2 separate regions of the Homo sapiens genome follow, and region 1 is linked to region 2. The links are contacts of gene promoters, found by promoter capture Hi-C in blood cells and fetal thymus (Javierre and others, 2016). All regions are on one chromosome and are shown on one strand. The core of a region is centred on a gene start or on the middle of the fragment in contact, and the rest is flanking DNA. Distances in the headings are between cores, read along the strand shown.

Region 1 (5,534 bases), core at 62-2,561, 320 kb after region 2:
CCTTCAGAATGGCCCAAGGGGCGCCTGTCCACCCTGCTGCCCCCCACCCTCTGCCCCTCAAGGCCTGGGGCATCCAGGCTCTATGACCTTTCCAAGGGTTTGCTGGAAGGAGCCTGGGGTTGGGAGCCGCTTGTGGAGGCGAACAGGCTCGTGGGCCATGACAGTCCCCTCGCTTCCTCCCTCACACAGAGGAGAGCAGCATCCACCGGGTCACCTGTGGGAGAGTTGGAGCCACTGGAAACGCGGGGCTCAGGGTGCCCGGCACACAGTGGGCCTGCAGGTGGGCACGGTCGGCCCCTCACAGAGTAAGCGGCTGAGGCACTGCCTGTGCTTGCGAGGTGCTCAAGTCACACCCCAGTAAACGGGGAGGGAGCTGCCTCCACCCCACCACCCACCCACCCACCCTCATCCATTCAGGTTCTCACACACACGCCCGTCACCGTCAGCCAGCGCCCCAGCCGGTCCCATGGCCCTCCCAGTTCCGTGAACGGCGCCACCTCTCAGGCCTCCATCCTGCCACTGGCCAGGTCACTCAGACTGTGGAGGGGAGGGTCTGACAGGCCCAAGCCCGACCCTGTGCCCCTCTCTGGCTGCAGCCCCGCATGCCTGAGGGTGGCTGGAGGGGGCCCAGTGCCTGCTGGGTGGGTGTCCCTTCCGGAGGCTCTGCAAGTGAGTTGCCTTCTGAGTCCGCGCAGGTGGTTGGTGGGATCTGGTTTCTGTGGCTATAGGACTGAAGTCCCTGTTCCCTGGCTGGCTGTCAGCCAGGGCCCAGCCTTAGCAAGTAGAGGCCTGTCTCTGTCCTTGCCCGTGGGCCCCCGTCTCGGAGCCGGCAGCGGCATGTCCAGTCCTCACACTTGGAAACTCTCTGGCTTCCCATTCGGCCTGGTCTCTCTTCTGCTTCCAGCCAGAGAAAGTCCTTTTCTGCTCTTACAGCTCATGGGACTGGACCAGACCCACTATCCCAGCCATGTCTAGGATAATTTCCCTCCCTATTTTAAGGTTCGTAACCTTAATTACACCTGCAAATTTCCTTTTGTCTTGTAACAACATCTTCCCAGCTACCAGGGATCAGGACTGGGACATCTTTGGGGGCCACTTCGCCTTCCACCAGACCTGGTTGGCCCCCTCAGCTGCCCTCTGTACGGCCTTGTAACATCCTTTTCCAAAGTCCAAGCAACTCAAGAGAAAAGACCCAAAGATAGTGACATCAGCAGTTCGCCCAGGAAAACCGTCCAGCTGGTCCTCTTATGTGAGTCCCACATGGATGAATCCTGCACGTGGCACAGGGTGTCTAAGCCACTGTTTGCTGCCCCTTTCTTAAATAGAAGTAGATGGCTGGGCACAGTAGCTCATGCCTATGATCCCAGCACTTTGGGAGGCTGAGGTGGGCAGATCACTTGAGGTCAGGAGTTCAAGACCAGCCTGGCCAACATGGTGAAACCCTGTCTCCACTAAAAATGTGAAAAAATTAGCTAGGCGTGGTGGTGCACCCCTGTAGTCCCAGCTATTCAGGAGGCTGAGGCAGGAGAATTGCTTGAACCTGGGAGGTGGAGGTTGCAGTGAGCCGAGATCTCACCACTGCACTCTAGCCTGGGTGACAGCAAGACTCTGTCTCAAAATAAATAAATAAATTAATTAATTAAAAAGAAGGCCATGGAGGGAAACATGTTCCCGAGATCTCTTGGAACTGTGCCGTGGGCAAAAAAAAAATAATTAAAAAAAAAAAAAAAAAAAAAAAATATATATATATATATATATATATATATATATATTTTTTTTTTTTGAGACAGAGTCTCTCTCTGTCTCCCAGGCTGGAGTGCAATGGCACGATCTCGGCTCACCGCAACCTCTGCCTCCTGGGTTCAAGCGATTCTCCTGTCTCAGCCTCCTGAGTAGCTGGAATTACAGGCGTCTACCACCACAACCGGCTAATTTTTGTATTTTTAGTAGAGACGGGGTTTCTCCATGTTGGCCAGGCTGGTCTCGAACTCCTGACCTCAGGTGATCCGCCCGCCTCGGCCTCCCAAAGTGCTGGAATTGCAGGCATGGGCTACCGCACCCCGTCCCCATTATATATATTTAAAAAAAAAAGAAGTCTTGGAGGGTGGGCATGAGCAAAACGAGGGGCAGCCACATAGAGGAAGATGGGGTCCAGGCAGCAGGAGCCAACTGATAGGAGAGAGTGGGTGCCAGATGACAGAGGCCAGGCACCAGGCCACAGGGGATGGTCAGGAGGCTCTGGGAGGAAACTGTTCCAATGTGTCTGAACACGTGGAGAGGCGGCTTACATAGCGGAAGGAGAGTGCAGAGGTGAAGTCACAGCCCCAGGAAGAAACTGGGGCACAAGTGGCCTGGGAACCAGATGCACTCCAGGGAAAATGAGGAACCCCAGCCTGCTGCACGGCTCAGCGTGAGCTGCACCCGCATAGTAACGTAGACACTGAATGTCTGTCTCACCAAAATTATGTTGGGGGTGGGGACAGTTGGGGGGTTCTATGTGTGAGAGGGAATTAAATCCTTCACTTCCAGGGTGGAGAATCAGGAGACCCTGTGCAACACTGAGAACCTGAGAAGTGTCCAGCTAAGCACAGTATAATTATTTTGGGTAGAGATGGGGTCTTGCTGTGTTGCCCACAGTGGTCTCCAACTCCTGGGCTCAACAGATCCTCCCGCCTCAGCCCCCTAAAGTACTGGGATGATAGACATGAGCCCCCATGCCCGGCCTAAGTACATTATTTTTTATTTATTTTTATTTATTTATTTATTTTTGAGATAGAGTCTTGCTCTGTCACCCAGGCTGGAGTGCAGTGGCTCGATCTCAGCCCACTGCAAACTCTGCATCCTGGGTTCAAGCTATTCTCATGCCTCAGCCTCCCAAGTTGCTGGGATTACAGGTGTGTGCCACCATGCCCAGCTAATTTTTGTATTTTTGGTAGAGAGGGGGTTTCACCACGTTGGCCAGGCTGGTCTCGAACTCCTGACCACCACGCCTGGCATTTTTTATTTATTTTTTGAGACGGAGTCTCACTCTGTTGCCCAGGCTGGAGTGCAGTGGCGCCATCTCAGCTCACTGCAACCTCTGCCTCCCTGGCTCAAGTGATACTCCCACCTCAGCCTCCCAAGTAGCTGGGATTACAAGCATTCCCCCCTGTGTCTGGCTAATTTTTGTATTTTTAGTAGAGACGGGGTTTCACCATGTTGGCCAGGCTGGTCTCGAACTCCTGACCTCAAGTGATCCACGCACCTCGGTCTCCCAAAGTGCTGGGATGACAGGTGTGAGTCACCATGTCTGGCCTCCTAAGCACATTATTTAAGCATAAAAAGGCAGACATGAAAAGACTGACCTGAAACATAAATGCTGGGAAAATAAACACAAGGGCATGGGAGCCTTGTGGACGCACAATGGGCAGAGAGGGGCGGGGACTGTTTTTATAACAGATGCATAAACCACTTGCATCCTCAAGTCACACACATGGTTGACAGAATGGGGTGGGAGGAGACCCCACACGAGTCCCACTGGGAGGGGCTGGCCTTGTAGGGGACACAGGGAAGGATCCCTGAGCTCCACCTGGGGTGTGGGTAGGGTGAGGGAGCCCCTCCCTCCAGGGGGAAGGGAGGAAATTCCACCACAGGGATGCAGGAGCCAGAGAACAGCAAGCCCACTCCTGGTACAGTGGGAACTCAGGGGTGGAGAGGAGGGACGGCAGTGGGGCCGGTGCTGCCTCTCTGCTGGCTGGGACGCCCCATGCCCAGCAGTCGGTCCCACGGATACGCCACCTTCCGCGGCACACTGCTTCAAGACTCTGGATCATTGCTTGTCTTCCTGCGGACGACAGGAAGAAAGATGAAGGCATGAGAGAGATGGCACTTTATAAAGGGTCAGAGAAGGGCCTCTCTGATGAGGCAACATTGGAGCAGAGACTCAGGACCTGAGGCACGTGGATAACGGGGCTCCCAGCTATGAAGGGGCCAGCTCGCGGCCACACAAGGATGACCTCCTTGCCCACCCAGGCTCTGCCTTGACCAATCCAGAAGCCATGCGGCCTCTGTGCGACTCCCTGCTCTTCTCCCAGGCCGGGGGCTGGGGCATGGGCTCGGGCCAGGGGCCGCTGTTTCTTGGAGTCTCCAACCAGAACTGAGCTCTTCAGGGGACCTGGATGACGCACTGTTTGGGTGGTTGTGTTTGGGGTGTGATGCGGCCACCCTGGAAAGCCCCAGCCTGTCAGCTCTGATCCGCGTCCCTGGGGTTCACCTCCCACCTCCGTGTCAGAACCTCTTCCTGCCCTTTCCTGTGGACTGGGGGGGATCTGAGTGCCTCCCTCCATGTTTCATGAACCGAAACTGAAGCTGGAGAAGATAGGGCTTATCTGGGGTCAAAAGGAGCCCAGGTCCCCAGCTTTTGTGGGGAAACTTGTTCTGGGGGCTGAGTCAGCCTGGCCAGGTTATATGGGCGTCGGGGATGAAGTGCAGGAGAGGAGTTTGGGGTCATCCCATGAGTGATCAGAGGCCCCTGGGGGCTTGGGTGGGAGCATCAGAGAGTGGGAGGTGCCAGAGCCGTTCTCTGCCTTCAGAAGGAAGATGAGTGAGAAGGTGCAAGGGGAAGAGGAGACTGAACAGAGAAAGAAATTCAAGAGGAGAGCTCTGGAGAGAGAGGCAGGTGCCGATGGAGAAGCTGGCCCATGGGGCGGTGGGTCGGTGGGTGGAACACGGTCCTCCCCACATCTGTCCACAAAACCTTCCAAAAAGTCCCATCTCTTTGCAGAGTAGGTAATAAGAGCAGCTCCCAGGCACCCCTATGTATTTACCAAGCTTTACAGAGCACCAGCCATCACTGGTCCAGTCCATCCTCACAGCTGCTCTGTGGGACAGGTACATTATTCCCTGCTTTCATAAATGGGGAAACCGAGGTACAGGGAAGTGCCTAAGGTCAAGCACTGGAAGGTGGCGGAGCTGGGAGCAGGCAGAGTGACTCGGGGCCCACTCCCACCTCCCCACCCGCCCTGTGTCTCTGGGGTGTAGGGAGTGAGTCCTGCAGCCAGGTGTGGGGGTGGGGGACGGGTTCCACACCAGTGAGGCTGGCCGGGCCCGGGTCAGAGGGTTGATGGGGTTTTTCAGCTCATGGGCAGTACCCAACTGCATCGTGGATTGAATCAGGCCCTGGGCTCTGAACCAACGCAAACTCTTCCAGTGACTGCCAATGAGGTGGCAAGGGAGCCCACGTGACCCTGAGGGCCTAGCACGCTCTTCATTGCCCAGGGAAGCCAGCCCCAGCCTGCAGGGCCACCTCCAGATGAGACACCGCTGGAGACGATGGGTGGCATTCTCAGGGCCTCTTTGTGGAGAAAAATAGGAAACTATGATTATAAAATTAGGCATAAAAGTGAATATTAAGAGTAAATAGGGCCAGGCACGGAGGCTCACGCCTGTAATCCCAGCACTTTGGGAGGCCGAGACGGGCAGATCACCCGAGGTTGGGAGTATGAGACCAGACTGGACAACATGGCGAAACCCTCTCTCTACTAAAAATACAAAAA
Region 2 (6,327 bases), core at 2,422-4,921:
GGCTGAGGAAGGAGGATCACTTGAGGTCCAGAGCTCAAGGTTACAGTGAGCTATGATCCTGCCACTGCACCCAGCATGGGCCACAGAGCAAGACGTCCTCTCTAAAAATAAATAAATAAATAAATAACAAATACTGTATGATTCTACTTTCTTCCTTTCTTCTTTTTCTTTCTTTTTTTTTTTTTTTTTGGAGATGGAGTCTCACTCTGTCGCCCAGGCTGGAGTGCAGTGGCATGATCTTGGCTCACTGCAACCTCCGCCTCCTGGGTTCAAGCGATCCTCCTGCCTCAGCCCCCCTAGTGGCTGGGACTACAGGCACATGCCACCATGCCCTGCTAAGTTTTGTATTTTTAGTAGAGACGGGGTTTCGCCATGTTGGCCAGGCTGGTCTCGAACTCCTGAGCTCAGGTGATCCACCCACCTCGGCCTCCCAAAGTGTGGGATTATAGGCATGAGCCACCGCGCCTGGCCTCTTTTTTTGATTTAATAAAGTTTTATTTTTGCAAATGTACAGTTGGTTGGACCTGTTCATGTATCATCACCAGCAGCTATAACATCTCCACCCTTGGTATTTCTGATGTAAATTACTTGAGCTCTGTGCTTTGAAACCAGTTTGTTAAGTCCTTTACTAAGGTTCTCCTGAAGGGCTGCCCTGGCCAGGAAGCCTCGAATCTTCAGTTTCTCAGAGACCACAGCAGGGCTTATAAGTTTATGGTTAGGAAGTTCCTTACAGAGTTTGTCATAGGTAGGTTTGTCAAACACGACTCAGTTATTGAGCTTGTCCCGGACTTTGCCTTTGAACCACTTCTTCTTTTGGGCCCTGCCCCCAGATTTGTTCACTGAATCTTTGTCTTTCTTAGCGACTTTCCGGTGTCTTCGTTCTTCTTGTCATCCATTGATAGCACGGCGAAGCTCAGAGAGCAGCAGCGAACCCTTTCTTCCCTCCCTCCCTCCCTTCCTTCCTTCTCTTTCTTTCTTCTTCTTCTTCTTTTTTTTTTTTTTTGCAGAGACGAGGTCGCCCTATGTTGCCCAGGCTGGTCTCAAACTCCTGGGCTCAGGCAATCCTCCTGCCTCAGGCTCCCAAAATGCTGGGATTACAGGCATGAGCCACTGTGCCTGGCCCAGATTCCACTTAGATGAGGTACTTAGGGAGTCTAATTCATTAAGACAGAAAGTAGAAAGGCAGTTACCAGGGGCTGGGGAAGGAAGGATGGGGAATTGTGTTCAATGGGTAAAGAGTTTTAGTTTAGCAAGAGGATAAAGTTCTGGAGACTGATTGCACAACGTGAATATATTTAACATCACTGAACTGTACATTTAAAAATGGCTAAGATGGTTAAGTTTTATGTTATACATATTTTACCACTTTTTCTTTTTTTTGTTTTTAGACAGAGTCTCGCTCTGTCGCTAGGCTGGAGTGCAGTGGTGTGATCTCAGCTCACTGCAACCTCTGCCTCCCAGGTTCAAGCGATTCTCCCGCCTCAGCTCCCTGAGTAGCTGGGACTACAGGCGTGTGCCATCATGCCCGGCTAATTTTTGTATTTTTAGTAGAGACGGGTTTCCATCATGTTGGCCAGAATGGTCTCGATCTCTTGACCTCATGATCCGCCCACCTCGGCCTCCCAAAGTGCTAAGATTACAGGCGTGAGCCACTGCGCCCGGCCAATTTACCACTATTTTTTAAAAAGTGGTGATAACACCATTAACTCAGCAGAGTTCTTGTGGGGATTCATTGAGGGGAGCTGTGGCCAGCTTCTTAGGGTAAGGCCAGCCTCATGGGCCTGTGACCTGTACAGAACCATAGGACCCCGTGCTCAGACAAGCCCTGAAGTTAGTTTAATGCTGCTGTCGCCATCTTAAAGTTCTTTTTTTTTTTTTAAGACGGAGTCTCGCCCTGTTGCCCAGGCTGGAGTGCAATAGTGCGATCTCGGCTCACTGTAACCTCTGTCTCCCAGGCTCAAACAATTCTCCTGCCTCAGCCTCCCAAGTAGCTGGGATTACAAGTGCGCACCACCATGCCCGGCAAATTTTTGTATTTTTAGTAAAGACGGGGTTTCACCATGTTGGCCAGGCTGGTCTCAAACTGCTGACCTTAGGTGATCCACCCGCCTCGGCCTCCCAAAGTGCTGGGATTACAGGCGTAAGGCACCATGCCCTGCCTTAAAATTCTTTTTTTGTTGTTGTTTTTTTTAACTTTTTTTCTCTAAGAGACAGAGTCTTGTTCTGTTGGCCAGGCTGTAGTGTAGTGGCGGGATCATAGCTCACTGCAGCCTCAATCTCCTAGGCTCAAGTGATCCACCTCAGCCTCCTGAGTAACTGAGTAGGACTGCTGGCTACGCCCCCATACCCGGCTGATTAAAAATATTTTTTCTTTTTTTTTTAGAAATGGGGTCTTGCTATATTGGCCAGGCTGGTCTGGAACTCCTGACCTCAAGTGATCCTCCCATCTTGGCCTCCCAAAGTACAGGGATTGCAGGCATGAGGCAACATGCTGGAAGGCTACAATGTTTATTGAACACTTTACTATGCCAGGCCCTAACCACGTCTTGCAAGCCTTCACTCATCTCCTGGGTTTAAGGTGAGAACACTGTAGTCGGAAGCCTTGGGACTTCTCAAGGCCTCACAACCAGACAGCAGCTGAAGGGTATGAATTGGCAATTTGGACTCCAGATAAGTGTTGGTTCCACTAGATGGTGCCAAAAGTAAATGATGATGCGCTGAATGTGCTCTGGGCCTGGGAGGCGGTTGTGTGGGAGATTATAGGAAGTGATGTTAGCAAAGCTCCAATCATCACTAAGAAAGCACACCACCACCCCTCCTGAGAGGCAGCAGCATGAATGGTCAGGTGTCCTGGGTTCAAAGCCAGACTCTGTCACTTACAAGTTGCACAAGTTTGCATAACTCTTTAAATTGATGAAATTAAAAATGAATAATTGTATAGAGAATTCGAGGTAACACAGGTCTATAACGAGAATAATAAACGTCTTTTTTTTTTTTTTTTGAGGCGGAGTCTTGTTCTGTCGCCCAGGCTTGAGTGCAGTGGCACGATCTTGGCTCACTGCAACCTCTGTCTCCCGGGTTCAAGCGATTCTCTTGCCTCAGCCTAGCCAGGATGGTCTCGATCTCCTGACCTCGCGACCCACCCGCCTCTGCCTCCCAAAGTGCTGGGATTACAGGCGTGAGCCACCGAGTCTGGCCCAGATAAACACTTTTTAAAAAAAATTATTTTATTTTTATGTTATTATTATTATTATTATTTGAGATGGAGTCTCGCTCTATCGCCCAGGCTGGAGTGCAGTGGCGCAACATCACCATTTCTTCAGATAAGGAAGCCGAGGTAGAAGGGGTAGGAGAGGCTAAACAGCGGATTGAGACCGAACCCAGGATTCGGACCTAATCATCACACCGCTCTACCTTTCTTTTTAGACTTAATCCCGTGCTCCAGACCCTTCTCAATCTCCTTTCTGGGCCCCGAGAGGGTGGACGGCCTGGCATTTCCTAGGATCCAAGCCCTGGGCATAGCGGCCGCCCGAGGTATGGAGCCCAAAGGAGCCCCAGGCAAGTCTGACTCCGGAAATAGTCGCAGCGCCGGCGGTCGCGTCCTGGGTTGCCAGGGCGCCGCCCTGGAAGTAGAGTGCAGCGCGGGGCGGGGCGGGCCGGTGCGCCTGGCAGTCGGCTGCGTACTCCTGCGAGCGCCGGAGAGGGGCTGGAGGCGGGGCGAGGGCGCGGCTCGAGGCATCCCTGCAGGGCGCTCCTCCGAGTCCCTCGGCGCTCTGAGCCCACAGGTGAGGTCCTGTCCCCCAGGCCGCCGCCTCCCGGGCACCGAGGGTGTGGCTGCGCGCGGGCTGGCGAGTGCGCATGGGTGAGAGAGTGTGGGCGCCAGTGTCTACGCGGCTGCGAAAATGCGGTTCAGATGCTGCTTGCCGGATCCGCGTCCTCCAGGAAGCCCGCGCTAACCACCGTGCCTTTCTCCGTCCGCTGAGTTCCTATGACTTACCTCGTGCTGTCCGACTGTTGCAATTGCATCATTATGTTTATTATTTGTTATCCCAGACTTTCATTGTTCCTACACGTTTCCCATTCGTTTGCAATCTGTGTTGTTTCTGTTGGCATCTTTTGCAGGGCGCAATGTACCTGTGGAGAGAACTCAGGGCAGGAGACAAGAGCCTTGTGTCTTCCCTCTAGATGACTGGACCAAGACATTTCCCCTCTCTGATTCCCTATCAGCTAAGAGGGCAGGGCGGGGTAGTCATCCTTTTCCATAGAGTAGCTGGGGCATTAGAGGAGATTAATTCTGGAAGTGAAAGTATCTTATCATTGTTAGCCCTTTTGGCATTTGCAAAGCAGGTTCTTTGCTCAGGAAACGTTTGATGAGCACATTATGGTGCCGGGTTGTGGCGGTACAAAAAGATGGGCCCCGGCCGGGCACGGTGGCTCACGCCTGTAATCCCAGCACTTTGGGAGGCCGAGGCGGGAGGATCACGAGGTCAGGAGATCGAGACCATCCTGGCTAACACGGTGAAACCCCGTCTATACTAAAAATACAAAAAAAAAAAAATTAGCCGGGCATGGTGGCGGGGGCCTGTAGTCCCAGCTACTCGGGAGGCTGAGGCAGGAGAATGGCGTGAACCCGGGAGGCGGAGCTTGCAGTGAGCCGAGATTGCGCCACTGCACTCCAGCCTGGGCGACAGAGCGAGATTCTGTCTCAAAAAAAAAAAAAAAAAAAAAAAAAAAAAAGATGGGCCCTTCTCTGCCCTCAAATTACAGACACTGGTAAGCAGTCACTGTGGAGCATGGTACTGTCACCCAGTGCGGGCGTGGAGATGGACAGTGACAATACCGCTGTGAACGAATGCCCTGCTCAACATGAAGTCATCACTGACATTGTTATTACTTTATTTATTTATTTATTTATTTTTAGACGGAGTCTTGCTTTGTTGCCCAGGCTGGAGTGCGGTCGCTCTCGGCTCACTGCAACCTCTGCCTCCTGGGTTCAAGCGATTCTCCTGCCTCAGCCTCCCATGTAGCTGTGATTACAGGCACGCGCCACCATGCCCCGCTAATTTTTTAAATTTTAGTAGAGATGGGGTTTCGCCATGTTGGCCAGGCTGGTCTCGAGCTCCTGACCTCAGGTGATCCGCCCACCTCGGCCTCCCAAAGTGCTGGGATTACAAGCGTGAGCCACTGTGCCTGGCCATATTCTTGGTTTTTTTTTTTTTTTTTTGAGACCGTCTCACTCTGTCACCCAGGCTGGAGTGTGCAGTGGTGCGATCTTGGCTCACTGCAACCTCTGCCTCCCGGGTTCAAGCAATCCTCCCACCTCAGCCTCCCAGATAGCTTGGATTACAGGCGCCCACCACCACGCCCGGCTGATATTTGTATTTTTAGTAGAGATAGGGTTTCACCATGTTGGCCAGGCTGGTTTTGAATTCCTGACCTCAGGTGATCTACCCACCTTGGCCTCCCAAAGTGTTGGGATTACAGGCGTGAGCCACCGTGCCCTGCTAAGAATCTGTATTTCTTTTTTTTTTTTTTTTTGAGATGGAGTCTCACTCTGTTGCCCGGGCTGGAGTGCAGTGGCGTGATGCCAGCTCACTGCAACCTCCACCTCCCAGGTTCAAGTGATTCTCGTGCATCAGCCTTCTGAGTAGCTGGGATTACAGATGTGCACCACCACGCGCAGCTAATTTTGTATTTTTAGTAGAGACGGGGTTTCACCATGTTAGCCAGGCTGGTCTCGAACTCCCGACCTCAGGTGATCCACCTGTCTTGGCCTCCCAAAGAATCTGTATTTCTAACAAGCTCCAGGTGCTGCTCACATGTGGGCCATGCTTTGAGTAGCACTGGACTAAATGATTGCTTACAACCCAAGTGCCATGGAGAAAATAAAGTGACAATGTGGTGGAGTCAGGAGGATTGAGATTGAGTGGTTGGGGAAAGCCACTCTGAGCAGTTGACTTTTGAGAAGGGACAGATCTGGAGGACGAGCAAAGGCTTAAGACAAAATGCAGCCTGTGGGGTGTCAGGAGCTGAAAGAAGGCCAGGGGCTAAAGAGGGTTGGTGAGAGACAAGGCCTAAGAGGTGATGGTCCAGATCTGCAGGGCTGGCCTCGTAGGCCATGGAGGACCACTAGCTTCATTCTGAATGCAGTATGAAGCTACTGTGGGGTAGTGAGCAGGGTGACATGGTTAGTGTTGTGTGTGTCACACATTGGTCCGCTGCTGGGTGGGAAATGGGTTGTAGTGGAGTGAGAAGAGTAGCAGGGGACAGAGTGGGGCCTGCTGCAGTTGCCCAGGAGAGAGGGGACATTATGGGAGTGGAGGATGG

Evidence for each region. Contacts are between HindIII fragments. The CHiCAGO score rates a contact against its expected background, and 5 or more counts as called.
Region 1: a contact is called between a fragment that was not itself captured here and the fragment with the promoter of TTLL1 in region 2, in 1 of 17 cell types (neutrophils). The highest score is 5.5, in neutrophils.

What each region holds. Positions count from the first base shown.
Region 1 is chr22:42,763,811-42,769,344 of GRCh38, reverse strand. No RefSeq gene overlaps it. Among named protein-coding and RNA genes, the nearest start is that of A4GALT, 46 kb to the right of the region's middle. The HindIII fragment of the contact is 7,000 bases long and covers 1-4,811 here.
Region 2 is chr22:43,086,735-43,093,061 of GRCh38, reverse strand. It overlaps TTLL1 (TTL family tubulin polyglutamylase complex subunit L1), which reads left to right and starts at 3,671. Exons shown (of 11, transcript NM_012263.5): 1 at 3,671-3,785. It also overlaps the pseudogene RPS25P10. RefSeq lists silencers at 2,697-2,756, 3,505-3,799, 3,564-3,903 and an enhancer at 3,505-3,799. The HindIII fragment of the contact is 9,359 bases long and covers 1-6,327 here.